2 separate regions of the Homo sapiens genome follow, and region 1 is linked to region 2. Evidence: promoter capture Hi-C in human tissues and cell types (Jung and others, 2019). All regions are on one chromosome and are shown on one strand. The core of a region is centred on a gene start or on the middle of the fragment in contact, and the rest is flanking DNA. Distances in the headings are between cores, read along the strand shown.

Region 1 (4,270 bases), core at 1,270-3,769, 1.8 Mb before region 2:
AATCATACACATGAAGCTGGGATTTTCTTTCCCTTTGTGAATGTAGAACCAATATAATCAAATATTTGAAGTGTAAAACATATTTTGTAAGCTGTGTTGAAGGAAGAAAATTGGTAACTTTAAGTGGGACTTATCATTTGTTGTGTGTGCTTTCCTCATAGTGAGTCTAATTTTCACAATTACACCTTGGTCTCATTGAATGAAGAATTTAATCGTGGACGAGGACTAAATGTGGGTGCCCGAGCTTGGGACAAGGGAGAGGTCTTGATGTTTTTCTGTGATGTTGATATCTATTTCTCAGCCGAATTCCTTAACAGCTGCCGGTTAAATGCTGAGCCAGGTGCGTAAAATGTTGGTAGATGAGCTGACTATAGAATTTAGAACGTTGTCAGCATGTCCTATAGTTTGAATCAAGTGATTTTGAGGGAGAAGTTTTAGTTAAACCCCAGTATTTTTTTAAGTTATATTAGGCATAATTTAACTGGAATACTAAATAGGAAATTGAAAATTTGACCCTTTGAAATTCATATCCTTTGTTCTCTTGGGTCCAACTTCCAGTGACTACATTTGAAGCCAAATATGGAAATGCAGAGGAACAGGGTATCTACAAATTGATGAGGTGGGAGCAGTGCAGGTCAGAAAAAGAGCTAAGCAGATGGTATGGAGATGTGTGTGAGAGTCTGAAGCACTCAGCTTTGGGCATATAGCGTCCACACATGCAAAAATACCCCCATGCATGTGTGCACACACACTCACATGGAAGTCTAGATGCAGATAGTGCTTGGTCTCCAGACTGTGCATTTTGGGATGATTTACTATACTTTGCTTTAAGTTGTAGATATTTTTTGAAAATTAATGAGATAGCCAGGTGCAGGGGCTCACGCCTATAATCTCAGTACTTCGGGAGGCTTAGGCGGGTGGATCATGAGGTCAAGAGATTGAGACCATCCTGGCCAACATGGTGAAATCCCGTCTCTACTAAAAATACAAAAATTAGCTGGGCATGGTGGCGTACGCCTGTAGTCCTAGCTACTCGGGTGGCTGAGGCAGAAGAATTGCTTGAACCTGGGAGGCAAAGGTTGCAGTAAGCCAAGATCATGCCACTGCACTCCAGCCTGGTGACAGAGTGAGACTCCATCTCAAAAAAAAAAAAAAAAATTAATGAGAAGATGACATTTTTTGAAATCAAATTTTAAATGCTTTTTAGTTCATTTAAAAGAATTAAAAGTATTAAAGAGGCTGGGGGTGGTGGCTCATGCCTGTAATCCCAGCACTTTGGGAGGCCGAGGCGGGCGGATCACGAGGTCAAGAGATGGAGACCATCCTGGCTAACACAGTGAAACCCCGTCTCTACTAAAAATACAAAAAAAATTATCCGGTCGTGGTGGTGGGTGCCTGTAGTCCTAGCTCCTCAGGAGACTGAGGCAGGAGAATGGCGTGAGCCCAGGAGGCGGAGCTTGCAGTGAGCTGAGATTGCGCCACTGCACTGCAGCCTGGGCGACAGGGCGACATTCTGTCTCAAAAAAAAAAAGTATTAAAGAATCTCAACAGGATGAGTAAGTTGAGGAAATCTGTTATACAAACATGGTGACTATAGTTAATAACAATGTATTGTATACTTACAAATTGCTAAGCCAGTAGTAGCATTAAAAAATGTTCTTACCACCAAAAAAAAAAAAGGTTAATTATGTGAGGTGATGATATATGTTTATTAGCTTGATTTAGTCATTTCGTAGTGTATGAATGTAGCAAAACATAATGTTGTACACCATTTTTATTAGTCAATTAGAAAAACATTGGGGTGGGGGGGTGCTGCTGAGCACAGTAGCTCACACCTTAATCCCAGCACCTTGGGAGTCTGAGACAGGAGGAGCACTTGAGTGCAGGAGTTCAAGACCAGCCTGGGCAACATAGTGAGTCCTAGTCTTTAAAAATAAAATTTTTGGCCAGGCATGGTGGCTGAATGCTTTTTAGCTCATTTAAAAGAATTAAAAGTATTAAAGAGGCTGGGCGTGGTGGTTCATGCCTGTAATCCCAGCACTTTGGGAGGCCGAGGCAGGCGGATCACCTCAGTCGGGAGTTCGATACCAGCCTGGCCAACATGGTGAAACCCCATCTCTACTAAAAATTAGCCAGGCGTGGTGGCTTGTTCCTGTAATCCCAGCTACTTGCGAGGCTGAGGCAGAAGAATTGCTTGAACCTGGGAGACGGAGGTTGCAATGAGCTGAGATCGCCAGCCTGGGTGACAGAGCAAGACTCCGTCTTAAAAAATAAAAATAAAAATGTTTTAAAGAATCTAATAGCAAATGGGGTTTTTTTAATGTAGAACTATTCATATGCAAATGATTGCCTTCTTATTAATTAGGTTAGAGATAGTTTTCAGGAACTCTTTGAGAACCTAATGAATAAATGAAGGTTAGGTTTATTTTACAGCATGAAATGCAAAATGTGAAAGTTGAAGGAGACGTATTTGCTTAGTTTAAAAGAAATATTTTATATCCAGAAATAGATTTGCCTCTGGAAAATTGAACTCCCCATCCCTAAATGTATTTGAACAAAGGTAGAATGAGCATCTGCTAGGGATCTTGTAATAAAAAGGTTGCCATGTTACTCCCACACTTCCTGACAATCACTGAACACTTCATGTGATCATATCTGATTGAAGCCAGCCATAGCAAGGGTTGCGTCTCCTGAGGGAAGATGGGCTAGTTAGCCTTTATGGTCCTTTTAGATCAGTCAGTTTGAATGCTGATGACAAGGTCTTCTCCAAGGGCTATTATATCAAGTAATTTTAACCCTTGTCTTCCCGACTTTTCCAGATTTTGGTTCAGATTTATTCTATATTTTCATTATTCTCTGCATATCTATTCATTGTACAGTATTCTTTGAATTTACTCTTTCTAATGATTCATTTTTGACAGGTGGATTTAACAGACGTTTCTAAGTTTCATAGTGATTATCAGAGGTTAATCTACGTTTATTACTACTGATTAGATGAAACAATGAGTAATAAATGACTCACGTAATGAATACACATCTCCCCAAAGTCAAAGGGAATAAACGTGAAGCACCCTTTAGTTTGTTTTTTCCTCTGTTCTTTTGCAAGGTTATAGTTAACCTACTGATATGTTACAAAATCATCATATTCATCAAATTAACATGATGTTCTGTAGCCTGAATATTAAAAAATAGATAAAATCATGTATAATAAGACTTTGATAAAACTTAATAGATATTGCAATAAAGAACAGTTCTTCATAACTTCTTTTTATGTTACAAACCTATATTTTAATTTGTAGGTAAGAAGGTGTTTTACCCTGTGGTGTTCAGTCTTTACAATCCTGCCATTGTTTATGCCAACCAGGAAGTGCCACCACCTGTGGAGCAGCAGCTGGTGAGACTTTCACATTTTCAGTTATGAAAGACTCTAAAGATCTTTTCTAGATGTTTGTTGTGTAAGTAGAAAACAAAGTTTCAATAAAAAACTGTATTTCCATGAGCAAAGTGTTAAAGAAAAACTATAGTTATTGTAAGCACATTTCCATAGTTCCTCTTTATACCCCCAATAAGATGCTTTTCACATTTATTGCTTCAGAATTAAGTGTAGGGGGAGCAGAGTTTAGGTCATAAAGGAAAACCTCATGTCCCAGAATGTGGAAATTGTACAGTCATTTCTACCAGCTTATTTTTACTAATACTAAAAATTTGATTTTAAAAACCCTACTAACTAGAAATTAAATCTACTCTGCTAAATAAGAGGGAATAGTATACTCTGGTAAATTACCTGGAAAGTCATAGAATATAAATGCCATATATCAAAACTTACAGTTATTGCCAAAGCTAATTTTATGTAAGTTTTTTAAAATTTTTAAATAAACATTATTTTATAATAATTTAGATTTAGAGAAGTTGCAAAGATAGTACAAAGAGTTCCATACTTCACCCAGTTTCCTCTAATGCTAACATCTTATGTAACCATGGTACATTTGTCAAAGTGAAGAAATTAATATTGGTAAGTTACTGCTAAGTACACTAGGATTACACCAGTTTTTCTACTAATGTCCTTTTTCTGTTTCAGAATCGAGTCGAGAATACCAAATTGCTTTTAACATAATCTTTTATTATTAATACTAAGAAAAAGTAGAAATGATTAAGAAGTCACTTTAAGATGTTTAAAAAAATGAAAAATAACTTCAAGGAAAGTAATAAAGGCAGAAGTTAATAAAACAAAAATAGATTGAGAAATATAGAAGCTTATGTTTATGTACAA
Region 2 (4,721 bases), core at 54-2,553:
TTATATTGAATTTTACCCACTTTTAAAAAACCTTTGGAAGCACCCGATTATTTGTCTCAGCTTTGATGAGGGCTGTGGAAGAGCAAATGTGTCATGACAAGTCACCAACCACAGGGAGCCTCAGAGCTGTCAAAGGATGGGCCATTCTCCAAAAATTCAAGCAAACGCAGAAACGGGAGGGCCCCTGGACTGGGTATCTTCAGTCCTGTCACTTTTTGCAGGTGGGGGTTCCAACATAAGTCATACAGCAGCCATACAAGCATTAGCACAGCCCCTCTAAGTCGAAGTTCAGGGACCCATGAGACTCAAATCCCAGGCTGATTTTGGTGCATATGGCCACCTGCACTTTCTAGAAGATCCATATCAGATTCTAAAATGGCCATGAGACCCTAAAAATATTAGGAAACGCACACTGAATGAAACTAAAATGATTTATGTTAGGGGTGGGAGAGAACAGGTCCAGAGGTCAGAGCTGGGAATCGTGAGGTAAAGCAGAAATTGCAAATGTTTTCCATCAACCCCATCCCCCACCTTGACACCCCCACACCCCAGAAACACTGAACTGTTCCCAGTTCCCCAAATGGCTTGTGGTTTTCTGTCCTCTCTGCCTCCGTGCTGGCAAATATTCGTCCAGGAGGCAGTGACTGGGAGAGAAAGACTAACTTCTTATTCACCAGATCGGATTTCTTAAACAATAAGGAGTTCTAAGAGGCCATGCCAAGCAAACGGCCAGACTGTACAAAGGTGCCCCTTGAGCAATAAATAGCAAATGCTCTGGGCTTTACTGATAAGCCTCCCCAGACTCCAAGCCCCACCAGGCATGCAGACAAGTGCCTGCAGTGATTGCAGCGCCTGCGCAGCGGCCCTTGTTGGAAGTCCAGGAGTCCGCGCTACCCCGCAAAGTCCCTGGCCGCTGCCCGCACACCGAACCTCTCGGGGCTGAGTCGGGCTGCTTTCTCCTCGCGTCCCGGGGCGCCCTCGGGAACTCGGGAGCGCGCGGCGAGCTGAACAATGGCCTGGGGACACCTGGCAGGTCGCAGGCCCCAAATCTTCCCCGCCGCCCCTAGGCCACCGCCCTGCACCCGGAACCTACCGGCGTTCCCAGAGCGGGGCGGACGGGGCGGTGCCATTGGCCGGTGCGGAGTGAGGGGCGTGCTCGGGGCGGGACGGAGAGACCGGGGCGGCACCTTTGGCCGTGCCGGGCGAGAGGCGGGGAGCGGGGCGGGGCGAGGGGCGAGGGGCGGGGCGAGGGGCGGGCCTGGCCCCGAGCAGCTGAAGCCTGGGGTCAGCAGGCGCTGCGGGCGCAGCTCCGGTGCAAGCGAGGACACGACACATGCAGTGGCTTCTGGACTGCGCGATGACTGGACGGTGAGTGATGAACGAGCAGGAGAGTGCTTGGGCGTCCATGGAGCATCCCCTCCGACCCAGGACTGCCACCAGGCAGGGACGCTGAAGCCTGGGCACTTGTGCCCTTCGGCCGCAGCGCGCAGGGTCCCTCCCCCGCCAGCCTGGCGCATTGCGGGCCTCGGGCTCATTGCTGAGAGGGGGCACTGCGCCTGGCACCTCTGTTAAGCAATTTAGGGGCTACAACCTGAGCAAGACAGATGAGCCCGGCCACTGGCTACACCTTTTTTGTTCACCTTGTCCTTAACCAGTTTCCTAGAAGCACTGATCCTAGAGTTGGGGAGAGAGCCTAGAGGCCTCTGGCACAACTCTGATTTCACTGATGGAAATCGAACGCCAAGATAATAGCAGCAGGGGGGGTCTGTCTCACAATCGCTGTCTGTAGAGGGCTCGCCTTGCTCTGGGCCAAGTGCTTTAACACGATATGCCTCTTACTCCTCACAGCAAGTGAGAGTCCTACTTTCGTTATCCCCTTTTCAGATGTGAAAACTGAGGCTTAAAGAGTTATAAAATTGTCCACCTTTACCGGATGAGTTGGTGATGGAGCCAGGATTTGAACCCAGGGCTTGTTGTGCCCCTGAGTCTCTTGCTCTTCACCCTTAGTCTCCGAAGGTCAGCCTGCCTGCTGCCCTGCTCTTCTGGGCTCCTGACTCCGGTCCCATCCTGCACTTCCCACTTCCAAAACATGCCTCAGTGTTTTCATTAACCTGGCACGGCGGAGGGAGGGAGGCCTCCTCTCACACCAGAATCAGTGCCCAGGCCAGGGCCAGCACTTTCTTAAAACACAGTAAGGACAGCTTCAGGAGCCCCATTTCACATAGGAATTAAATAAGGTCGCACAGCAAATAAGGGCTGGGCTTCTGGAATTTGAACCCAAGCAGGTTAGACTCCAAAGCTATGCTTTGCACTCACAGAGGAGCCCCTCGCTGGCTTTGCTGTAGTTTAACTGCCCACAGTACTAAGGTGTCAATCAGGATTTGTTGCCAGAAACCATTTTTTTTTAAGTTAGAAGTGAATTGGTGAAGTAACAGGTAAATGTAGACCATCCTGCCTTCTGTTCCTCTGTGTGGTTCCTTAGCTACTTCTGCCAGGACAGCAGGTTAGGGGAGAAGACAGGAAGGGAGAGGGTCAGAGGAGAAAGAGGAAGGGAGGGAAGAGGAGAGATGAAACTCATTAAACTTAGGTTAAAAAAATGCTGGCCGGAAATTGTCATGGGCTGTTTCAGCACTTTGTCAGTGTATGTGAAGGCTGTTGTCATTAGTTCTAGCCATAATTCTCTCAGTGTGTAGTGCTGGTGATTTGACAACAAAAAGGTTGATGCTACAGATTAAAGTGTCTGTCTGAAACTCAGGAGATTGGGTTGTATTTCCACCATGAAGCTCCAGTGGGTAGCCTGGAGGTCGAGAACAGAATCAAGGTCCAGGGTCGCCCTGGGTCAGGACCAAGTGGACCATGACAGATAACAAAGAACATGAACGAAACTTGGGTGTGTGTCAGAGTTCAGATTCTGGACGTGCAAAGCCTCAAAGGGGAGACCTAACTAGGGGATCTGCCAGAAAGCCCTCTGCCCTGGGCCCCTGGGGTCTGGGGCCTGGTTTCAGGTGTCAGCTCAGACTCTCTCCTCATTCATGGCCACTCCTGCAGGCAGGCCTCACATTCCCATCTCTGGGGCTCCACAGTCTCTCCAGAGCCCCCAACTCCCAGTGTCAATAAGAATAGTAATGGGAGCCTCTTTTCATTATGGGTGAGCCCAACACAAGGCCCATCTTACAGGTCTCCTCATTCGTCTTCACAGAAGTCATCGAGGATTATAGTTATTTAATTGATGAGGAGCCCAAGGTTCAGAGAGGGAACTGGACTTGCTTAAGGTAACAGAGCCAGGCAGTCACAGAGCAGAGCTTTAAACCCAGAGCCTTGCAAAGGCTAGGTGGTTATTCTCTCACAGAGTATGTTTGGGGAAATTGTTTTAAAATAAAGAAAATCAAATAAGAAGTGGCTGCACTTCCTAAAGCTTCAACAGTTTTCTTATTTTTGTAAAAGAGAAACTTGTAGTTCCCGGGGTCTCCTTTTCTGGCTGTCCCACCTTCTGCCCTAGGATATACTGTTGAGGAAGAGGCCCGGAACCCCCTCCCTTTGCCCTGCCTGACCTTGGGAAGCAGGGGTGGGGTGTCATTGAGCCCCATAGCTGCAGTGCTGGGAAGAGCCCTGAAGACTCTCTATCAGCTGCCACAACAGCTCTGGCTAAACTGATGCCCAAGAGACGGCGCAACACGCTAGGATCACAGGCCAAGTTAATGCCACAGCAAAACTCACATGCAAGGCTCTACAACGTTCCTCTGCCTCCTCTTTCTTGCTGTGACAGGTTTCAGCAGAGATTCTAAACCTAAGATCTGGGGATCTGGGAGTACATGGACAAGAGCTGTCTCATCTCCCTGCAGTGATATGCAAATTGTGTGTGTGTTTGCACGTGGATGCAGATTGCAACAACATGCACATACATGCATTTTCTGGGGAGAGTGCACTAAGCTTTCAAGAGACTCCAAAGGACTCTATGACCCAAAAGATTCTGGGACCCTTTTGTCTCACAGGGCCCTTATGTCCCCAGCAGTGACATGTGGCACACAGGCCTGGGGCAGTGGACAGCACAGGTGAGGGCAGCCGTAGAGAGCCTCCAGAGCAGCCCTGCAGCAGCAGGCACCCAGAGGGGTCTGCCCCTCTGCATTGCACTCCCAGCCCCAGGCAATCGGGATATTGGACAGTGCCCATTTTGAGCACGTTTGGCCCGAAAACCATAGCTAAGAAGATCTTTGTTTCTGTGGATCTTCTCTTCCATAGGCTAGAGGTGAGCCTGGTTGGTGGGGAAGTTGAGGAGTGGTTCAGGGGGTTCCAGGAGCAGAGAATGTATGTTTAAGGTGTAAGGGGGGAGCAGGAGGACTGGAAATGGTTTTCTTGTCCCAAATTGCTTTGCCTTGAAACAAGGGCAGAAGCCAGAAGTCTTGCCCACTGGGAAGGCTGGTCTGCGATCTACATGGCTGCTCAGGGCCAGGCTCTCAGAGGAAGGGGAGCTGTATCAGGGAGGCCTGGATGCTGGACTGGACTCAGAGAGACCTGTCAGTGAGAGGCCAGAACCGCAGCGGGGAGTAAAGGTGAGCTGGGCCTGTGTGGTCAGTCCAGGGCAAGGCGGGAGTGGAGGTGGAGGGGAGCTCTGTGCCCGCCTCTCCTGGACTCCCCTGGTCTCCATCACCTCCACCTGGACAGTGCAGAGTCTTCTGGGGCAGGGAGGAGTGAGTTGAGCCAGAGGGATGATGGCGGGAGTG

The links. Contacts are between HindIII fragments. The study calls those that stand out against the background at their distance.
Region 1: a fragment that was not itself captured here is called in contact with the fragment with the promoter of RASSF4 in region 2 in 1 of the 25 tissues and cell types used here (dorsolateral prefrontal cortex).

What each region holds. Positions count from the first base shown.
Region 1 is chr10:43,163,705-43,167,974 of GRCh38, forward strand. CSGALNACT2 (chondroitin sulfate N-acetylgalactosaminyltransferase 2) reads left to right here. Exons shown (of 8, transcript NM_018590.5): 5 at 162-340; 6 at 3,300-3,394. Among named protein-coding and RNA genes, the nearest start is that of CSGALNACT2, 27 kb to the left of the region's middle. The HindIII fragment of the contact is 4,073 bases long and covers 484-4,270 here.
Region 2 is chr10:44,958,499-44,963,219 of GRCh38, forward strand. RASSF4 (Ras association domain family member 4) reads left to right here and starts at 1,304. Exons shown (of 11, transcript NM_032023.4): 1 at 1,304-1,368. TMEM72-AS1 (TMEM72 antisense RNA 1) reads right to left here and starts at 1,191. Exons shown (of 8, transcript NR_033842.1): 1 at 1,094-1,191. RefSeq lists an enhancer at 983-1,277 and a silencer at 1,055-1,274. The HindIII fragment of the contact is 12,479 bases long and covers 1-3,672 here.